Regions from separate parts of the Homo sapiens genome. Here region 2 is linked to region 1. The links are contacts of gene promoters, found by promoter capture Hi-C in human tissues and cell types (Jung and others, 2019). All regions are on one chromosome and are shown on one strand. Each heading gives the region's core, a stretch centred on a gene start or on the middle of the fragment in contact. The rest is flanking DNA. Distances are from core to core; before and after follow the strand shown.

Region 1 (5,805 bases), core at 2,403-4,902:
ATAGGTGAACGAATAAACAAACTGCATATTCATACAGTGAAATTCTACTCAGCAATAAAAGGAATAAACTATTCATATATACAACAACATGGATGAATCTCAAAAATATTATGCTTACCTAAAGAAGCCAGACACAAGGGAGTATGTACTGTATGACTCCTTTTATATGACATTTGTGAACTAATCTCCAGTGATAGACTTCAGGTCACTTGTTACCCTAAGTGAGAGACAGTTAGACTGACTAGTTAAAGGCACAAGATAACTTCCTTGGGAGATAGAAATACTTTGTATCTTTTTGGGATCATGGTTATTTCAAAAGACTTTGGATTTTACATGTATCATGGATACTTTTTATTTCATGAAAATTATACTTACAATGTTGATTTAAAAATATATTGTATATATTTCTGAAAGAAACAATGGTTTATCTTCTTGTATTATTTAACACTTCTGGAATGTATTTAATGAAGATTAGAGATAAAATGCAAACAAGCTGTAAGTATTTTAAAATGGAAGGGTACCACTATTTGCAGATGAAATCGTATTTCTGGAAAGTCAAGGTAACAGGGTGAAATAGCTCTGGGATTACTGAGAAGTCTTAATAAAGTGTCTGGATATAAGATAAATATACTTTTTTTGGACAAAATAAATAGTACATCCTTAATAGCAGTACAAAATATTAAAACAAAAATATGAAATTTGTATGATCAATCTTTACAAAATATGCACAGACCTGTATAAATTTAATACTGGGATAAAAGGAAGACAAATAAATGGGAAACTACATTTCTGGGTGAAGAGACAAAGCACTAAAAATATGTTCTTTATAAATTACTTCCTAGTTTTAATGAAATTCCAATAAAATCCCCAAAAGAGAGGAGCTTTGAAAATTTTGAAAAGAGTGAAAAGGGGACTGGCACTGTCAGGGTTACAATATAATTTAATCTCTGATAATCAAATCAGTCTAATCATAGCAATATAATAAAAAATTGAAACAGATCAATTGAACAGAATAGGTAGCCCGGAAACAGATCTTATTATGAACTAATTATGTGTATATGACAAAAGTGGTATTACACCACAATGCAGAAGAAAAAGATTATTCAGTAAATGGTGTTGGTGTAACAAATAAAGTATAAATGCAGATTTTCATCCCATAGTGTATGCCAAAATAAATTCCAAAATCAAATTTTTACTAAAGCCTTTAAACAAATATAAATGAAGGTAAATATTTATTAACTAAAGTGTTCTAATACATTGCAAAGGCAACAAGCAGCAAATTTGCCTACGTAAAATTTCCCTTAGGAGAAAGTTCAATGAAGTGCAATAGACCCTAGAGATCTGACTCATCACTAGCTTCTATGTCTAGCACATAGTGTGTGCTCTAATAAATCTTTACAGAACACATGAAAACTTTTTTCTTACTTTTTTGAAAGGCAGCAGCACTATCATTTTTTAACAATATGACAAATTGGGAAAAATGTGTCATATATGAAGCAGGATTAGTATCCTCTTATTAAACATTTGATTAGTATACTCTTATGAAACATTTATACAAATGGTAAACTTCATTAAGACCCATGAGGTACACAAGTATGTGAACAAACTGCCACAAAAGAGGGGATACAAAGATTAATCAATAGTGGGGAAATGTTGAATGTGAATAACAGAATTGAATATTATCTGTCAAGTTAAAATATTTTTTTAAAATAAAAAATAGCAATATCCAATGCTGGTTTGAGTATAAGTGTAATAGCTCATCTCATACAATTTGGGGGACTTAATACGAACTTCATAGAAGGGTGATTTTGCATTCTATGTTGACAGCCTTAAAAATATCTACCACTTTTGATCCCGTAATTATTTTTCACATAATTTATCTTAAAACATTACTTGTTAGAAAGAAAAAAAGTTTATGAAAAAAGGTCATCATATGATCACAGATATTAGTAAAATTGGGCAAATACATGTCAAACAACGGGAAAATGAATCTTATGGTATAGCCTTTCAATGGAATAGTATATAGCCATTTAAATTATTTTAAAAATTATTCTATATTTATTTAAATTATTTATCTTTATTGTCCCATTAAACAGAGGAGGAAGCTGATACACAGAGGGTTTATGTGACTTGTTCAGTCTCTGAACTAACTAGCAGGATGTGATATCGAGCAGGCTGCCTTCCTAGTCCACACTCTTAATCAATGCACCATACCGCCTGTGTTTGTTAAAACATAAAAAAAAATGTTTTCAGTAGTTTTATGGGTGTGTGTGCACAGGTGCATCTACGGGGGGCTCCTTGATCTCCTCTGTACACTTTCACATCTTCCAAAGTTTCTACAATAAGCATGATTTTTAAACATTGTAAATGACCTTAATGAATTGTAATATTCTTTTATAATCCTCAAGTAAACTTCATTTTGTGTAGTCACACTCAAGAGTTTTCATCTTGGGATTATTGGCACCCCCTATTTCCAGTTCTCTCTCCATAGATGCCCTGGAGAGCCTCTGGCCTCGCGTCCAGCTTGCTCACCCGGCCACCCTGGGCTGCATCCATAGTACCAGGATCCTCACTGTTGAAACGCTCTCTTATTTCCCTGCGCCGCTGCAGACAGCTCCAGGGTAAAGTTGTCAAGCGTTCAAAGGCCACAGGAACGGAGTCTTCGGACCCTCCCAGGTTTCGGCCCCATATGGCCTCGCAGATTCCTAGCGGCCGCGGGTTCAAGTCCCAGCCGCTGACGCAGGTCAGGCACTCACCCGGAAGCGCAGCGACCTTCCCAAGAGTGGGGCGCCGGCGGAGAAATCCCCTGGGACTGGCAGGGCTGGAGTCGGCCTGCATCGCACAGGCCACGAGGCCACCGGTGTTTAGGGTTCAGATCTGGGGACCAGCGCCAGCAGACCGCAGTCCTGCAGCGGCGCCCCTTGAGGACGGCATGCGGAGCCTCAGGGGCAGAAGTCCGCCCGGCTGACCATCCTTTATTAAAATACGACAGTTCCTGAAAACAATGCTTATCTCAAGCTGACTCAAAACTGGCTCTTGAGAAAATCCGGTGTTAATTAAAGAGGGTTGTCGGGGACAAAATTCACGGCTTGTGTTTCGCGGGGGAGTGGTTGTGGGGTGATCTTAATATAAACACGTTATCTCGAGAGTTAATTATGTCTCTGGTTGGAAACAGGAGAAGAGGGTGACTGTTTACGCAGTCCATGGGAATCAGCGTCTCACTTTAGGGGACGGTGGGCAAGGGTCGCCCTTCGATAGCGCGGCGGCTGGTCCACCAGAGAAACCAAGTTTTCTAGGTCGCCGGGGAAAAGCGGAAAATTAGACTTGAGCCAGCCTTGCTCCTGTGAGACATTCGTGCACTCATAACCCAGCAGTGGGTGCCTCTACCTAGAATGAGCCCTTCATTTCCCGGATCCGTTCAGGGGGAAACAGCGAAATCCCCAAATCCGCTTCCTTACGTGGCTAATAAAGGGGTGCTTACAGAGCATGGAAAAACAAAACAAAGAAACAAGAATACCTTGAGTGTTTTGACGTTTGAAAACCCGACTCCGGAGAATCATGGAATCATATTCCAAGTTTCAGTGTCTAATGAAGTTTAAGGGGACGCCTATTACTTGGGTTTGTAAAATCGCGGCGTCGCGCCCGCCCCAAGTCAAAGCTGAGCAGAGCAGGGATGGGGAAGGTCTCCGGCCCCAGGCGCGGCGCGCGGGGCTTCTGCCCAGTTTCCTGCTTCTCAGCCGCGGTGTCTGCCCCGGCCCAGAGCAGTCTGTGCAATTTAGAAACTCGATAGGAGGCAGCAGCTGGTCTCCCACCACCCTAAAAATAATCCGTTCCGGCGCACTGCGTGCTTCGCCTAGGGGAGGAAAACTGTCATCGGAGTAAGTGAATCCGTGTCTTTTACATGAATGCCATTTAAACATTTTTAGGAATAACTGTAAGTTGTCGATTTTGAGCTAACATTTCTGCTATCCAAAAACGCCCTCGCACTCTCTCGCACTTCTCGGCACTTAGCTTTCGCGATCGCTATTTCTAGAATTAAGGGACGAGGCCCGGCTCGAGAAGTGAAGGGGTGGGGATCAGGTTTCCAGTTTTACTTCAAAACTGCCGTCTCCTACTCAAATCAACTGGAAACAGTGAAAGGAGTTATTATTATTAGGAGTTATTATTACCGCCTTTCTTGTAGACAATTCTTGTATGTTCAAGAAGTAGTTTTCTATCTGCTTAATTTTTGTTACTCTTTACTTTTTTTTAGGAGTTCTGCGTCCGGGTTTGAAATTTACATCTTAAGACAGTGTAGGAAGTCGGTGTTTTGAAGGTAGCTCAAGTGCACCGGCAGGGGTTTGAAGCAGCGTGAAGCTATTGCCCAAGGTATTTATTTTTTGCTTTATTTGTTCAGTTTGGGATTTTTTTTAAAATCCCATTGCAGTATCTAAGGAATACCTACTGAGTAATTTCAACATTTCTTTTGGTGTGGGATGGTACTTCACAGCCACTGAAGAGTAAATGGGTGGATTCAGATCAGGCACTAAGTCAGAAGTCAGTGGTCATTTTTGCCAGTGATTTTCCCACTTGGATCTGTCATAGTTATAGCCATGGTAGCTAGCTAACTAGCTATACATCTTCTAGTTTTTATTTCATGAACTAGGGACTGAATAACTTCAAAGAAGTGATTACAGCATTTGTTTTTGCAAGTGACATCCATCCTGAAAATGCTCTAGATGATGATAAAGCCCTAAGTTCTTTAAAATGTCCTGCTTCTCTTTCATAACAGAATTTGGTTAATCTCTAAACGATTAAAGAATGAATCCTTTTATATGTAAGAATGAAAACTTTTATTTAAATTTAGCATGTTTTCTCCAGGTGTTTCCAGCATTTTAAACTCTCTGCAATTGCTATTCGATCAGAACTAACGCTTTCTGCTAAGTGAACAGGAAGGAAGACAAGTTTTCACTTGCTTTACTTGTAGTCTATTTCCAAAGGACAGGGCTGGCCACAATAAATGGTGTACCTTATATGCCTCAGCACTTAAATGTGTTTTTAGAATTAAATCAGATAACTACTGCTCGTGTCTTGCAGAGGAACCAACAGACTGGATAGGTCAGGTATTATATTCACCAACTAAATCCAAAATGTATATGTTCTAGATGTGTGGAATTTCATGTAATGCATTTCGAGGAATAAAAACACTGAGGGTGCGATTCTTGCCATGAAATCGTAAGTTAGATAATTAGGAGTATTTCTATTTTATGTTTTCTGCTCCATAGACATACGTTAGAAGCAAAATTTCACTTTGATCTTTGTTTTTAAAGTTTATTCAGTCAAGTTCTCCAACTCTATCACCTCTCATAAACAACTGAGCATATTTCGATGGCTTATGCTTGTGGAAAGGGAAACATTATATCTCCCCATCTGCTCTCCCTTCTCTCTCTCTCCTTGATGCTTGGGCCTCCCTCAGTGCTTAGCTGAATCTAAACAGCTCCAGAAGGGGTGGAGCTGAAGGATGTCAGGTGACAGAGTTTAGCCAGCAAGAACAGCGATTTATACCCTTCCCCAAACATTCCCAATTGAACCTGGTGTCTGGGAGGGAAACATTAAATGACAATTGGAAATTTAAGGATTAGGAACGTGGATTGAATAAAATGCCTTTGATAAACACAATAATTATCAATATATCAGCAATAAGTTTACTGCCTCCCTCTTTTTGTCCATGTTGGGTTGTAATGGAGGCTGGCTGTTAGAGTGCCACATGGACTCTGGATGTTGGATAAGGAGACTACGGGTTAAAGGGAAAGGATAAATGAGGAG
Region 2 (5,805 bases), core at 1,558-4,057, 50 kb before region 1:
TCACTTCTAAATATTATCACTTTAGGGGAGAGGGTTCCAACATATGAATGTTGGGGGACACAAACATTCAATCCCTGGCAGGAAGTGATGCTGTATCAATTAGGGAGCTGATAGCAAAAACCCAAGGTGATTCTCCAGTCTCTCTTCCCCTACCATAGTGACAGAGAAGACCACATGGTCTAGATAAGATGACTACAAGTTGGTTGGCAGAATCTTCCTCAGCATGGCCTCTGAGTGACTGCATAGTCACTCAAAGACCCCACTACAGCAGAGGCCTTGCTGAGGAAGGTTCTACAAACCAACTGAGTGACTATGCACAGTGACTAGGCTTCTGAGTGACTATACAGAGGCTTCCAGAAACCTCGACAGACATGCAGTGTGAGTTAGAAATAAACTTTTGTGTGTTCAATCACTGAGATTTGGGGATAGTCTCCCTTCCCTTCCCTTCCCTTCCCTTCCCTTCCTTTCCCTTCCCTCCCCTCCCCTCCCCTCCCTCCCTCCCTTTCTCTTCTCTTTCTTTTCTTTTCTTTTCTTTTCTTTTCTCTGCAGCATAGCCTCTCCTATCCTAACCATGGGCAAGGGCAGAATCTCCAACCTTACAAACGGCAGAAGATTGAAGGCCCTAAAGAGACCTGAGGTTGGAATGAGTAGGATTTGGAGTGTATGAACTTCACGACCAAGGACCACAGAGAAAGCATAGACTCAGCAGTAATACCGGCCTCATGATGGCAATAAAAAGTCTTGCTGTGATCAGCAACACTATAGCTAAGGCAGAGACCCTTCTTCTGATTGCAGCATAATATGTAAGTTCTCTGGAAATTTAAGTTTACTTTAAGAAAAGGGAGGAAAAGTAAAGATACAAAGGAAAATCTTGAGTGATTGAATTTAAATACTAAGTTGATTGCTTTAAAATCAGAAAAGATGATATGCTGTGTCATCGTCATGTTCTGCTACAGAGACTGTTGTTTGTCTGCCCCTATATCTTTCTCTTTCCTTATGCCTTGATCTTATTCAGCACCATCAATGAAGTGGAAGTGGAAGTGTGTAACTTCTGAGAAATTTTCATAAAAGACAGCTGGAGGGTGCCCTTTGGCCTCTCTGCTACTTCCTCCTTCCTGCTGCTTAAGATGCAGATGCAATGCATTTGTAAGCACTGTGGATGGGAGAGCTCAGAGATCTCTGTGGGCCCCTACGACTCTAGGAAGCCACTGTATCAGGCCCCAGCTGCGTTCTCTAATCTTCATTAAACTTAAGAGCATAAACCTGCACATTTAAGCCTCCATAGTAGGGTCTCTGTTCTATGAAGCTGAACCGAATCCTAACTGATACCCTTTCCTTCTCTTGGTTATATGGCAAGCAATTTCAAGAACCAGAAGCCACAGGAAAGTAGCAGCAGAATTCTAGGTAGAAACCACATTCTGAAGAAGGATCTCAAAGATAACAGTGGGAAAGATTCTTTGTCCTGTGCATTGGAAAAGACAAATTCTCTAAGACAAACATTCACTGTGTTTTATTACTATATTCTTACAAATAGGAAAATTATCCTTTCCAAACCAGTTGCTTGCATCCTAAGAAATGTAGGGCTCCTTATGCTAGCATAAAATGGTGCATTAGTAAACCAAAATTATCCAGCATCAACTAATATGATAGTTGGACTTGCAATCCAGGAAGCACATTTGATGAAGTGTTAACTGTCTAAACAACAGTGAGGCACAGGTAAGTATGGGATTCCCAAATGTGCTTCAGCAATATTTTTGAAATTTTGCATTATTTAACACTGGAAATAATCTTATCTAATTCTTCTATATAGATTACTAGCCGGCTAGGTAGGAATCTTTATTACACTAGAATCTTGTCTTATCTTTTTGCATACTCTTGTGGTTAAAGCGATAATAAAATTTCCTAACTCTAAACCAATTGCTCATGCAATTGGTTTAATGCAATTGATTTAAAGCAAGTTAACAGCTTCTAGGAGACTGTGGCTTTCCCTCAAAGGAGTCTTTGTGAAATTTACAAGAAAGCTAAGAATCAGCTACTTGCTTCCATAATTTAGAGAGGCATTGAGAGTCTCTTTAAACCTTATTTAAACATGCAGTGAATAATCAGAATAGAAATGACCAGAGGTATTTTGTTTCCTCCGTCGTGTAAGAGACAGAAATGTGTCTTTCCATCTTTTTTTTGTCCTCACCCCCAATTCACACACATTTATGTGATGGGTCAAAACATTTTAACATATGTGCAAATACGTGTGTGTGTTCTTAACCTTCTTTTTTTTTTTTTTTTTTAACTTTTGCTGACCTAAGAGATTCTAACTCTGTCTACCAATCTGCCAAGTCTTCTTTCCTTCACCTTCTGTGAATAGTTCTGCTTTTTGCCATCTGGGTTCTTCTGAGCTTTGCAGAATAAGGAAAAAAGTGACAGGCGCAGGACAAATAATATGAAAGACTGTGGAATGGAGGAAAGAAAGATGGAAAAGAAGAGGGGTCTATGTATAAACTTCACAGTGTTTGTGAAATAAAAGTAAAGATATTGAGTTATTCTGAAATTACTTTTTGGTAGCTGGATTGTGTAATTGTGAGCAATCAGTCTTAGAGTTTAATAAGGTCATAGACTTAAACCCTCATACCTCTTTAGACAGTCCCCTCTAAATTAGACCCCTACTTCTCAACTATTGAAAACCCATGGATTAACACAAAAATTTTATGACCATCCACTTTCAGGGATTTTGACATGGCCCTTGAGGGCATAGTTGAAAGTCACTGGGGAATCTATGTTTTCTCACCAGCGAAGGCAATTTTGTTAAATTTACTTTCTGTAGACTGTATTATAAAAATCAATAGAATGCCTGTTAGATGTATATAGGTATCTTATAACATATTGAATAGTATATGACCTGTCATGCAAAACGTGGATGTCTTCCTGCCCCTGTTGCTTTAAATGGAGAATCCTGCTCCAAATCTGAAGTGAGTATTGTAGAGAGGATCCTAGCCAACAACCTGCAGGTTAAAGAGTAAAGTGAATAAAGTATGCTCAACTGTAAAATGGAGCTGTTTGGATTTGGGAGCATTAAGCAGGAGAGGTGAAAAGTAAAGACAATACTGGAAGCAAATGGCTGACTATTGAGACAAGAGTTGAAGATAACTCTGATAGGGTAGATCGCATTGAGTGAAGTAAGCTTTGCCAGCAGCTATCCCCAACAACAGACTGTGGGATTCACAGAAGTTTAGTAGCTCTAGCTTGTGGTATGCAGAAGAATTCCTCAAAAGTCTGTGTGCACAACATCCAAATGTCAGAATTCCCGCTAAGTTAGAAACTGCTAAGCTGCTTCTTTCTACATATATTTGAATCACATACCTTATTCTTATGACAAATATTCTGAAGAATTACTTATTTCATTTTTCTTTTTCTTTTGAGATGGAGTCTCACTCTGTCACCCAGGCTGGAGTACAGTGGCGCGATCTCAGCTCACTGCAACCTCCGCCTCCCAGGTTCAAGCAGTTCTCCTGCCTCAGCCTCCTGAGTAGCTGGGATTACAGGCGCATGCCACCACGCCCGGCTAATTTTTGTATTTTTAGTAGAGACAGGGTTTCACCATGTTGGGCAGGCTGGTCTTGAGCTCCTGACTTTGTGTTCTGCCCGCCTCGGTCTCCCAAAGTGCTAGGATTACAGGTGTGAGCCACTGTGCCTGGCATTATTTCATTTTTCATAGCTAGCTAAATAATGCTGTTCTATGATAAGATCTTTCTAAAACTTTAGGTGTCACTATAAAAGGCACATCTTGAATTAAAAAAGTTAAGATAGAGATAGAGTCTTAATTTTTTTTCCGTCCTATGTATTCTCTCAGCAGTTTGGTTCAAAGCATATTTGTTAGGAGTCAATGCTGCACTGGCTGCTGGAGATATGGTAACGAATGGTACCCTAGCCCTGGCATGTAGAAATACTTTCAATGTGTTAATAACATATTTTTTTTCCACAGTTAACTTTTCTATTAGTTAAATTAGGAAAATTTTTACATTGTCTTACGAATATCCAGTCTCTCAACTCAGCACTAGAGGGAGCAACAGTGCAGAAGAAAAGCTATGAAAATGTGAGCTTCACTATTATTATAGCAATATTGAAAATCACAAAATTTCAGAAAAAAAATATGGCTGAAAGGAGGTAGAATGTCTAACAGTGTGTGGAGGTGAGTGGCTAACCCGTCAGTAAAGTTAGGGAAAGCTGGAGATACCGCTTTGGAGAACTGAAATCTTTTTGAGGGATTTTTTTCCAAGAATAGGGCTTGAAATCTACATTAAACAGTATCTAGGAGACTAGGAGACATCACTCTCAAAGACTTTACTGCCAATATTTATTGACAAGTGCCACCAATCAGCAAGGATAAGACAAGAATAAGTGGGTAGAAACGTTTTTGGCCACAAGCAATACAATTTTGACCTGGGCAATGACCAGACCCTTGAAAACACAGTACTTTTAGAATGAATAACTATATAATGCACAGGACATGCTGTGTTATTTTCTGATAAGAACTTTTTGAAAAATTCAAAAAATTTTGAATGGAAGACAAAGAATTATGCAAAAATTTTAGTACTGAGGACAGAATGATGACTACCATGTACTAAGTGCCTGTCCTTGGCTTTAAATGTATTGTTATGTACAGTTTATTATGACCCTAATGAGGTAGGTAGTTCCAGCTGTATTTCTCATATTGGAAAATAGGCTTAATATAAGCCAAGTGTTAAAGAAATAATTACTGGATCATCATACTATATTTATGTAATATATAATACTGAAAATAAGTAAGATTAACATTCATATTGGTAGTCAGGAATATTATTAGGATTGATACAAAGTATGGCTAAATTTATTATTTGATTTAATATAAAGACCTAAAAATGTGTATTATCTAAGAAAAATTTGTAGCTTTTGGCTTTTGACATTTAGTAGAAGTATTAATCATTCAGAAGTAAACTATATATCTTATTACCAAAATAAAAGGCCTAGGTCATATTGTTCTTGAATTTTAAGTGATGGTTTAAATCTTAACATATTTGAGCTAATACATAGAAGTGCTTATTGTCAGAAGTCACTTAAACTCTATAAAGTCCTTGTAATTCCTTATACTGATTCAAGTGGTGCTGATATCACTTTCTTTGCAAGGTTTTATGTCATGAGTGTGTTGATGTGGACAATGGGATGTGATGTACCAACTTAGATTCTTTCCAGCTCCCTGGTGTTACTGCTTTTGTGTAGGACTTGCTAAACTAATAGCTGAGAACAAAAGGCACTGGGAGTTCACCTTTTAACATGAACAATGTCTACTGTTCCCCACTCCCGTAGTATGAGATACCCACCATTGAGTTCATAAAATGATGGGTTCTCACAGCACCCTGAAGGGTAAAAATTGTCACTTTCTTCTTTTTTTTTTGAGATGGAGTCTTGCGATCACTTTCTTGAGAACACAATTTCTAAAGCATTTAACTTCTCCCCCAACCCCTAGATTGAAGGAGGCACTAGATTTATATATTCTAAAATATGAAGGGTTCTAAAAATTGGAGAATGCCACTGACTTTTCATCTGGAGACTCGTGAAGGCAGAAACCCCACTGCCGAGGAGATCCTCTGATGCCAGAAGCCAGCAGAGCATGAGAGTATCACAGTGTTCCTATGAAGATGAGAGCTGAGGGCCACTATATCCCAGTTCCCAGAGTTCACGGAGGCTAGTTCTCAAGATTCCAAGTGAGAGAGCCAAGAGTTGAACAGAGGGACAGGAGCCACTCAGATTGCTCAGGAGAATGTACACAGAGGA

The links. Contacts are between HindIII fragments. The study calls those that stand out against the background at their distance.
Region 2: a fragment that was not itself captured here is called in contact with the fragment with the promoter of ABCC9 in region 1 in 4 of the 25 tissues and cell types used here (heart left ventricle, mesendoderm cells, neural progenitor cells and 1 more).

The regions. Positions count from the first base shown.
Region 1 is chr12:21,939,273-21,945,077 of GRCh38, reverse strand. ABCC9 (ATP binding cassette subfamily C member 9) reads left to right here and starts at 3,652. Exons shown (of 40, transcript NM_020297.4): 1 at 3,652-3,878; 2 at 4,253-4,368. RefSeq lists an enhancer at 3,242-4,219. The HindIII fragment of the contact is 18,026 bases long and covers 1-5,805 here.
Region 2 is chr12:21,988,254-21,994,058 of GRCh38, reverse strand. No RefSeq gene overlaps it. Among named protein-coding and RNA genes, the nearest start is that of ABCC9, 50 kb to the right of the region's middle. The HindIII fragment of the contact is 9,375 bases long and covers 1-5,805 here.